Regions from separate parts of the Homo sapiens genome. Here region 1 is linked to region 2. Evidence: promoter capture Hi-C in 16 types of primary human blood cells and fetal thymus (Javierre and others, 2016). All regions are on one chromosome and are shown on one strand. The core of a region is centred on a gene start or on the middle of the fragment in contact, and the rest is flanking DNA. Distances in the headings are between cores, read along the strand shown. Region 1 overlaps C2orf42 (chromosome 2 open reading frame 42). Region 2 holds the start of SNRNP27 (small nuclear ribonucleoprotein U4/U6.U5 subunit 27).

What was found. The method cuts DNA at HindIII sites, captures the fragments that hold promoters and counts their contacts. A CHiCAGO score of 5 or more calls a contact.
Region 1: a fragment that was not itself captured here is called in contact with the fragment with the promoter of SNRNP27 in region 2 in 11 of 17 cell types (naive CD8 T cells, M1 macrophages, monocytes and 8 more); the score reaches 9.7 in naive CD8 T cells.

Annotation. Positions count from the first base shown.
Region 1 is chr2:70,164,850-70,168,911 of GRCh38, reverse strand. It overlaps C2orf42 (chromosome 2 open reading frame 42), which reads left to right. Exons shown (of 10, transcript NM_017880.3): 7 at 3,277-3,384; 8 at 3,720-3,820. Among named protein-coding and RNA genes, the nearest start is that of C2orf42, 24 kb to the left of the region's middle. The HindIII fragment of the contact is 4,037 bases long and covers 1-3,721 here.
Region 2 is chr2:69,890,705-69,895,384 of GRCh38, reverse strand. It overlaps SNRNP27 (small nuclear ribonucleoprotein U4/U6.U5 subunit 27), which reads right to left and starts at 1,429. Exons shown (of 6, transcript NM_006857.3): 1 at 1,367-1,429; 2 at 171-291. The coding sequence starts at 1,400. RefSeq lists enhancers at 1-868, 1,067-1,126, 869-1,804. The HindIII fragment of the contact is 14,817 bases long and covers 1-4,680 here.

The DNA.
Region 1 (4,062 bases), core at 454-2,953, 270 kb before region 2:
GAAACCCTATCTCTACTAAAAATACAAAACAATTAGCCAGGCATTATAGTGGGTGCCTGTAGTCCCAAATACCTGGGAGGCTGAGGTGGGAGAATTGCTTGAACCCGGGAGGCGGAGGTTGCAGTGAGCCAAGATCGCACCATTGCACTCCAGCCTGGGCAACAGTGAGACTCCATCTAAAAAAAAAAAAAGGGACATAAACATGCTGAGGAAGATTGGAGAACACAGGCTGGATTTGGGTGTTATTTGTTATAGTCTCATGGAACGTCACCAGTTTCAGATCTAGCCAGTCTCTGCTTGTTGCCTTAAAAGTATCCTATTAGCAGCCGGGTGCGGTGGCTCATGCCTGTAATCCCAGCACTTTGGGAGGCTGAGGCGGGCGGATCACGAGGTCAGAAGATTGAGACCATCCTGGCTAACACAGTGAAACCCCATCTCTACTAAAAATACAAAAAAATTAGCCAGGTGTGGTGGCGGGTGCCTGTAGTCCCAGCTACTCGGGAGGCTGAGGCAGGAGAATGGCGTGAACCCAGGAGGTGGAGCTTACAGTGATCTGAGATTGCACCACTGCACTCCAGCCTGGGTGACTAAGTGAGACTCCATCTCAAAAAAAAAAAAAAAGGATCCTATAGCTGGGCATGGTGGCAGAGGCCTGTAGTCCCAACTACTCAGGAGGCTGAGGTAGGTGAATCACTTGTCGCCCAGGCTGGAGTGCAGTGGCGTGATCTTGGCTCACTGTAATCTCCACCTCCCAGGTTCAAGCAATTCTCCTGCCTCAGCCTCCCAAGTAGCTGGGATTACAGGCACGCACCACCATGCCTGGCCAATTTTTTGTATTTTTAGTAGAGATGGGGTTTCACCATGTTAACCAGGCTGGTCTTGAACTCCTGACCTCAGGTGATCCACCTACCTCGGCCTCCCAAAGTGCTGGGATTACAGGCGTGAACCACCGTGCCCAGCCCAGAAAACAGAATATTGATAATACTATAAGCTAAACACTTGTAGTCCTCTTCCATCCCATCCTATTCCCTCTTCCATCCCATTCCTGTACCACCCTCTATTCCATCTTACCATCTCCATTACTACCACCTTTGTCCAGGTTTCCATCAGCTCGCTCCTTGACTATGAGTGTGTGTGTTTTACCTTTTTGAAGTTAATTCTTTTTTATTTTTTGAGACAGTCTTGCTCTGTCACACAGGCTGGAGTGCAGTGGTACAATCTCAGTTCACTGCAACCTCCACCTCCCAGGCTCAAGAAATTCTCGTGTTTCAGCCTCCTGAGTAGCTGGGATTATAGGCATGTGTCACCACTCCTGGCTAATTTTTGTATTTTTAATAGAGACAGGGTTTCACCATGTTGGCCAGGCTGGTCTCGAACTTCTGACCTCAAGTGATCCGCCTGCCTAGGCCTCCCAAAGTGTTGGAATTACAGGTGTGAGCCACCACACCTGGTCTGGACAGAATTTTTAAGAAAGACTGAACTCACTTGACCCCCTCCCCTTAACTCTTTTTGTTGACCTAATGTCTGACAAGTTTCTTTTCTTTTTTTTTTTTTGAGACAGAGTCTCACTCTGTCGCCCAGGCTGGAGTGCAGTGGCGTGATCTTGGCTCACTGCAACCTCCGCCTCCCAGGTTCAGGCGATTCTCCTGCCTCAGCCTCCCAAGTAGCTGGGACTACAGGCGCATGCCACCATGCCCGGCTAATTTTTTGTATTTTTAGTAGAGATGGAGTTTCACCATGTTAGCCAGGATGGTCTCAATTTCCTGACCTGGTGATCCACCTGCCTCATCCTCCCAAAGGGCTGGGATTACAGGTGTGAGCCACTGTGCCTGGCCGCAAGGTTCTTTAAGAGGTTGGTTAAGTACTTTCAAGTATTTTACCTGCCTTGAGGTCATATTCAGAGAGAAAGACAGATGCTTGCTGGGTAAGCAGTGTCCTAACTTGTAGTCCCTCAGCATTCATGGTGCTGACCATCGGGTGAGAGAGCATGTCATTAGTTTGCTTAGACATGAATGCAAATAGCAAGAACCTGGGGATAGCGAGCAAAAGGGAATCAAGTGGAGGCAGCCACCTCGGCCTCATTGTTCTCATCCCATCTTACTTCGCATACCCTTTAAGGGGGAAAGTCTGTGCTGTGTTGGTCTTTTTAAAATTTGCGGATTTGAAATGTTATACTTGGTGGATGACAAGGGTCTACTGTGTTGGTTTGTTTTTTCATTGTCTTTTTTCTTTTTTTTCAGTGGAGTCTCACCCTGTTGCCCAAGCTAGAGTGCAGTGGCATGATCTCGGCTCACTGCAACCTCTGCCTCCTGGGTTCAAGCGATTCTCCTGCCTCAGCTTCCTGAGTAGCTGGAATTACAGGCACACACCACCATGCCCAGCTAATTTTTTTTTTTTTTTTTTTTTTTAGTAGAGATGGGTTTTCACCATGTTGGCCAAGCTGGTCTCGAACTCCTGACCTCAGGTAATCCACCCACCTCGGCCTCCCAAAGTGCTGGGATTACAGGTGTGAGTCACCACGCCTGGCCTCTCTTTTCTTTTCTTTTTTTTTCCTTTTTGAGGGAGGGTCTCACTCTGTTGCCCAGGCTGGAGTGCAGTGGCGTGATCATGGCTTACTGCAGCCTCAACCTCCTCGACTCAGTTGATCCTCCCACCTCAGCCTCCCAAGTAGCTGGGACAGCAGGTGCATACCACCACGCCTGGCTAATTTAAAAAAAAATTTTGGCCAGGCACGGTGGCTCACGCCTGTAATCCCAGCACTTTGGGTGGCCGAGGTGGGTGGATCACGAGGTCAGGAGTTTGAGACCAGCCTGGCCAACATGGTGAAACCCCATCTCTACTAAAAATACAAAAATTAGCCAGGCGTGGTGGTGCACGCCTGTAGTCACAGCTACTCAGGAGGCTGAGGCAGGAGGATTGCTTGAACCCGGGAGGCAGAGGTTGCAGTGAGCCGAGATCATGCCATTGCACTCCAGCCTGGGCAACAGAGTGAGACTCCATCTCAAAAAAAAAATTTTTTTTTATAGACACTGGGTCTTTCTTTGTTGCCCAGGCTACACTGTGTTTTTTATGTTTGCAAGGGATCAACAGTAGGACTAGTGACAGTTCTTGGCCCAGAAAGGTCAATCAAAGCCTTCTTTTTGCCTCTGTATAAAGAAATCTCAGTGGTATTTTTAGTTATTACCGTCCCTTGATTCCTTTTCTTTCACCTCTCCCTGTACATCAGAAAGTCCACTGAGTTTCTTTAAATGAGTTGTTTCTTCTTGTTTCCCATAGGCAAACCAGAACCATTGGTGTTCCACATTCCTCAGTCATTTTTTGATGCCCTGCAACAAAGAATATCTATAGGAAGTGCAAAAAAACGGCTCCCCAACTCCACCACAGGTACAGGATTTCCCTTTGGTATAGTGATGGATGTCTCGAACATAGAGAATTATGTTTGGAAAAAATCTGTGTGGAATATTCACCGTGAGTATTCAGAGTTAGGACTTCTACTCACATGTCTGGAGCACAAAGCCTTCAATGATCAGCATATCAATTATCTACATCAACTGATTTGTCACCAAAACCTTTTATATATTTGCCTCTAGAATTTCTTTTTAAAAGTGCTGAGAATCTATAAGGAAATAATAGTACTGTATTAGAAACTAGGTAACAAATACAACAAAAGAAAATGTTATTTTTTGGTAATCTAATTTTGTCCTTTTTTCACGTTGAAGCTTTTGTTCGGAAAGATGCCTTGCCACTGGGAACCTTTTCCAAGTATACTTGGCATATCACTAATATCCTGCAAGTTAAACAAATCTTAGATACCCCAGAGGTGAGAGTTTATTTCTATAACAGTGGGAGGGTTGTGAAGGGAAGAGAGGGAGGCAAGTACAGGGACTATATTTGCACTGGTTCCTTGAGTTACAGACACCAGAGTTTCTTTTTTTCATGCTAAGAGATATTCAGAAATATCCCTGGCTTTATAGTTCTGACTCCAATTTTAATGTGTGTTCCCTATGGCTTGAAAAAAGTATCTTAAATTGGAATATACTTTTCCTTTGCCTTTGGGATTAA
Region 2 (4,680 bases), core at 180-2,679:
CACCATTTAACCAAGGTGAATGTTAGCTTTAGAATAAGGTTGGATTAAGTTTCCTCCATTTCAGGAAACCGTAAATCCCCTTATAAGCGATGAAAACAAAGTTAAGAGCTGCGACCAGTTTCTTAGGGACTTTCGGTAAATAAAACTCTTGGCTTATTTTCTGCCCTTACCGGGAGCGTCTTCGGTGCGGGGATCGCGAGCGGCTCCTTCTCCGATCTCTCTCCCGAGACCTGGACCTTTCTCGGCGCCTGCGTTCTCTCTCCCGGGATGTGGACCGGGAACGCCTACGTTCTAATGCAAACGCACACAAATTGCAGAACTGATAATTACCTCAAATATCTAGAGCTGCGCCGTCCAGTAGAAAAATAATGCAAACCATTACTAGTCACATTAAAAAGGTAAAAAGAGGCTGGGAGCGGTGGCTCACGCCTGTAATCCCAGCACTTTGTGAGGCTGGCGGGCGGATCACAAGGTCAGGAGTTCGAGACCAGCCTGGCCAACGCGGCGAAACCCCGTCTCTAATAAAAATACAAAAATTAGCCAGGCGTGGTGGCACGGACGGGTAATCCCAGCTACTCGGAAGGCTGAGGCATGAGAATCGCTTGAACCCAGGAGGTGGAGGTTGCAGTGAGCTGAGATCGGCCACTGCACTCCAGCCTGGGCGGGCGACAGAGCGAGACTCTGTCTCATTAAAAATAAATAAATTGATTTAAAAAAAAAACGAATCAGGGGCAGAACCGAGGGTCTAAGTTAGATCTCCTAATGGAAGTCCAGGGTTCTTTACGTCGCGCTGCCTCATTTATGGGGCTGGTAGCCAGAAAACATTACGAAGTGAGCTCCCAGGACTCAAAATTCTTAATATCGATTTCCCTGTAATGACCTGGGCAGGAATCTAACATTTATTAAGTATTTAAGAACCAGGCAGAATCACATACTGTATGTTATGGGATGTGACATTAATTCTCACATCAGTTTTTAAAAGTTGGCAATACTACCCTCAATGACTCATTCTGGGAATTCGATTCAGAAAGGCTGAGTAGTGACTTGCCCACCGTCGCCCAGAAATTCAGCAAAGGAACTGAGGTCTAATTCTAAACCCACCGGCCACAGTGTAATAAAAGTTATTGTATGAAGGTGACAAAGACTTAATGAAACTAATTCAGAGACAAACAACTGCCTTCAAACCGGAGAGGGCGGGCTGAAGAGGGCAGGGCCCAGGTCTACGTTCCTTTATCCACCCCTCGCTCTCCGCCTGGGAAAAGGGCCCGCCTCTCTGCTACGCGGCTACCAAAAACAAAACAAAATAAAACAAAAGGGACAGGCCTCCAACAGAGCCCCATATCCTCCGAATTGCTACAGGACTCACCCCTCCGTGGAGAGCGGCTGCGACTGCGACCCATTTGGAGTCCCGCTTCCCGGAAACAACTGTGCAACAACTTCCGGGAGGGCCGGGAACCGAGCTTTTACCGCCGACCAGAAAACGTCAAAACGAGTTGCGAGGGTTCCGGTCTTCTTTGTTCACGGTGGGCATTAAAACATGCGATTTGGTGTTATTATAGAAATTCCTGGAAAATTCAGCCGTATACCCATTATCCTAACACAGCTTTCATTTTTCCCCCATTTTTGTCCACATGCACAAAATAGAGCAAACCAATTGTAAACATAGCATAGACAAACAGCTTATGTTCTTCCACTTTTCCACATAACATTCATAAGGAGTGAATATACCAAAGTTCACTGTCCATCTGCTTTATATTTTCTCATGCCAGCATTGAGAAGGCACCCAAAACCTCCTATGGGCTCTTGGAAGGAAAACTAAAGGCCCCAGATTCCATCCTACCCGACAAAGTACTTCCCCAAAGTTGCCTCTGTCCTCAGGGAAAACAACAACAACAACAACAAAAACTTTAGAATGTTCAAAACTACAAAAATTAGGAGAAAGACTGTCTTGCCCCAAGGCTGAACCGTCTGTGGTAGAGCATAAATATGCTTACCAGGAAAGACTCAAACCTCTATTTCTTATTTTATTTTATTTTGTTCCAGGGTACATTTGCAGGATGTGCAGTTTTGTTACATAGGTAAATGTGTGCCATGGTGGTTCGCTACACCTATCAACCCATTAAGCCTTGCATCTATTAAGCTATTCTTCCCAATGCTCTCCCTCTCCCCAGCTCCTCCCCCTACAGGCCCCAGTGTGTGTTGTTCCTCTCCCTGTGCCCATGTGTTCTCATTGTTCAGCTCCTACTTATAAGTGAGAACATGCAATGTTTGGTTTTCTGTTTCTGTGTTAGTTTGCTGAAGATAATGGCTTCTAGTTCCATCCATGTCCCTGCAAAGGACATTATCTCGTTCCTTTTTATGGCTGTGTAGTATTCCATGGTGTATACGTACCACATTTTTTTAATCCAGTCTATCATTGATGGGCATTTGGGTTGATTCTATGTCTTCGCTATTGTGAATAGTACTGCAGTGAACATATGCGTGCAAGTATCTTCGTAATAAAATTATTTATATTCCTTTGGGTATATACCCAGTAATGGGATTGCTGGGTCAAATGGTATTTCTGGTTTTAGGTCTTTGAGGAAACACCACATTGTCTTCCACAATGGTTGAGCTAATTTACATTCCCACCAACAGTGTAAAAGTGTTGAACCTCTGTTTCTAATCAAACCAACTCTTTTCAGTCAGCTCTCTCTAGAATTATCAAGTCTAGTGACCTGGCTTTTAAAATACAAAGAGCTGGGGGATGGAAAGGGACTTTATTAGGTTGGAAAAAATGCCCACCAATCACATAAATTTTTAATTAGATTTATACATTCAGAGTGGCCTGTTTAATACCTGTCCCAACCCAAACTTCCAGGAAAGATCCAGCCATGACATCTAGGATTTCTACCAACAGCCCCAACCCCCAGATGCCTTTGGAATTACCCTGGCAAAGCATGCACTAGGTGTAGAATGGGGAGGTTCAAGGGAGGTGCAGACCCCAGGGAAGAAGATTTAGGGACATCATTGGAGAAACACACCACTAATGATAGCCAGGCGTGGTGACGCATGCTTGTAATCCCAGCTACTTGGGAGGCTGAGGCAGGAGAATTGCTTGAACCTGGGAGGTTGAGGTTGCAGTGAGCTGAGACTGCGCCACTGCACTCCAGCCTGGGCGACAGAGTGGGACTCCGTCTCAAACAAAAAAAAAAAAAAAGAAAGAAGAAGCACACCACTAATGATTGAAGAAATTATCCACAGGAAAGACAGGATTTATGGGAAGCCTAAGGGGGTATGTACTAGATGTGTAAGAGAGGAAGAACATGGTGGCCTCAGGTGGTGGCTGAAAATACTCTTTCTTTCTCTTTCTCTTTCTCCTTCTCCCCTCAGGGCTGGGGTCTCATCTGATGAAAATGCTTTTTAAGAAACCCCTCACCCGGCGCGGTGGCTCACGCCTGTAATCCCAGCACTTTGGGAGGCCGAGGCGGGCGGATCACGAGGTCAGGAGATCGAGACTACAGTGAAACACCGTCTCTACTAAAAATACAAAAAATTAGCCGGAGGTGGTGGCGGGTGCTTGTAGTCCCAGCTACTCGGGAGGCTGAGACAGGAAAATAGTGTGAACCTGGGAGGTGGAGCTTGCAGTGAGCCGAGATCGCGCCACTGCACTCCAGCTGGGCGGTAGAGTGAGACTCCGTCTCAAAAAAAAAAAAAAAAAAAAAAAAAAAAAGAAACCCCTCTAGGACTAAAAATGATTGGAAGGTATGCTGGGGATCAGTTGAATACACAAAGATTTTTTGAATGCATGCGATGCACAGGACACTATACCCCTTTGGCACTAGATTGAAAAGATGAGTAAGACATGGTCCCTGCCTCAAGGAGCTTGCACTCTAGCTGTGGAGGCAGACAGAGGAAGACACCTCTTCACTGTAATGTGGTAATATAAAATATGCACAGTGTGCTAAGGTGACATGAAAGAAGGCTATTCAGCCTAATTTGTCCAAGAGGGTTTCCTGGAATAATAATAATAGCTAATACATACTGTGCTAACTAAATGCCAGGCACTGTTATAAAAATGTTTATGTACACACACATTCACACACAATTAGTTGAGCTGTGAGACTGAAAAGAATACATTGTCCAAGCGAAGAGTAGGAGTAGCAGCAATAGCAAAGGCACAGAGATGTGTCACATTATGACATACACAAGCACTGAAAGAGGTTTGATATTATCATCACTTTGAGTTCACCATGGCAGACCTTACCAAGTACCTGGGACTTTATCCTTACAGTTATGGCTGGCCACTGGAGCATTTCAGGCTGGGAGTGACCTGACCAGATTTGCATTTTAGATGATTCATCTGGATGCCAGATCTAAAGACCTGAGCCAGAAAGAACAAGTGGAGGGAATGAGGGGTTGTACTAAGGCAATGATAGAAGAGAATGAGAAAGAACAGAATCAGGAGACATTTGAGGAATAGCATGGCAGGTATTGGAGGCTAGTTAGATCCAGGCAGTGGGAAGAGAGAGAAGAAACGACTTCCAGGCAGGGCCAGCTTTATAGGCATGTGACCTGTGTAGTCACACAGGGTCCTGGGCATAGAAGGGCTTAATACTCAGCTTTTGCTACTCTTGAAATTCCTACTAATCTTTGAACAAGAGGTTCTGCAATTTCCATTTTGCACTGGGCCTAGTAAAA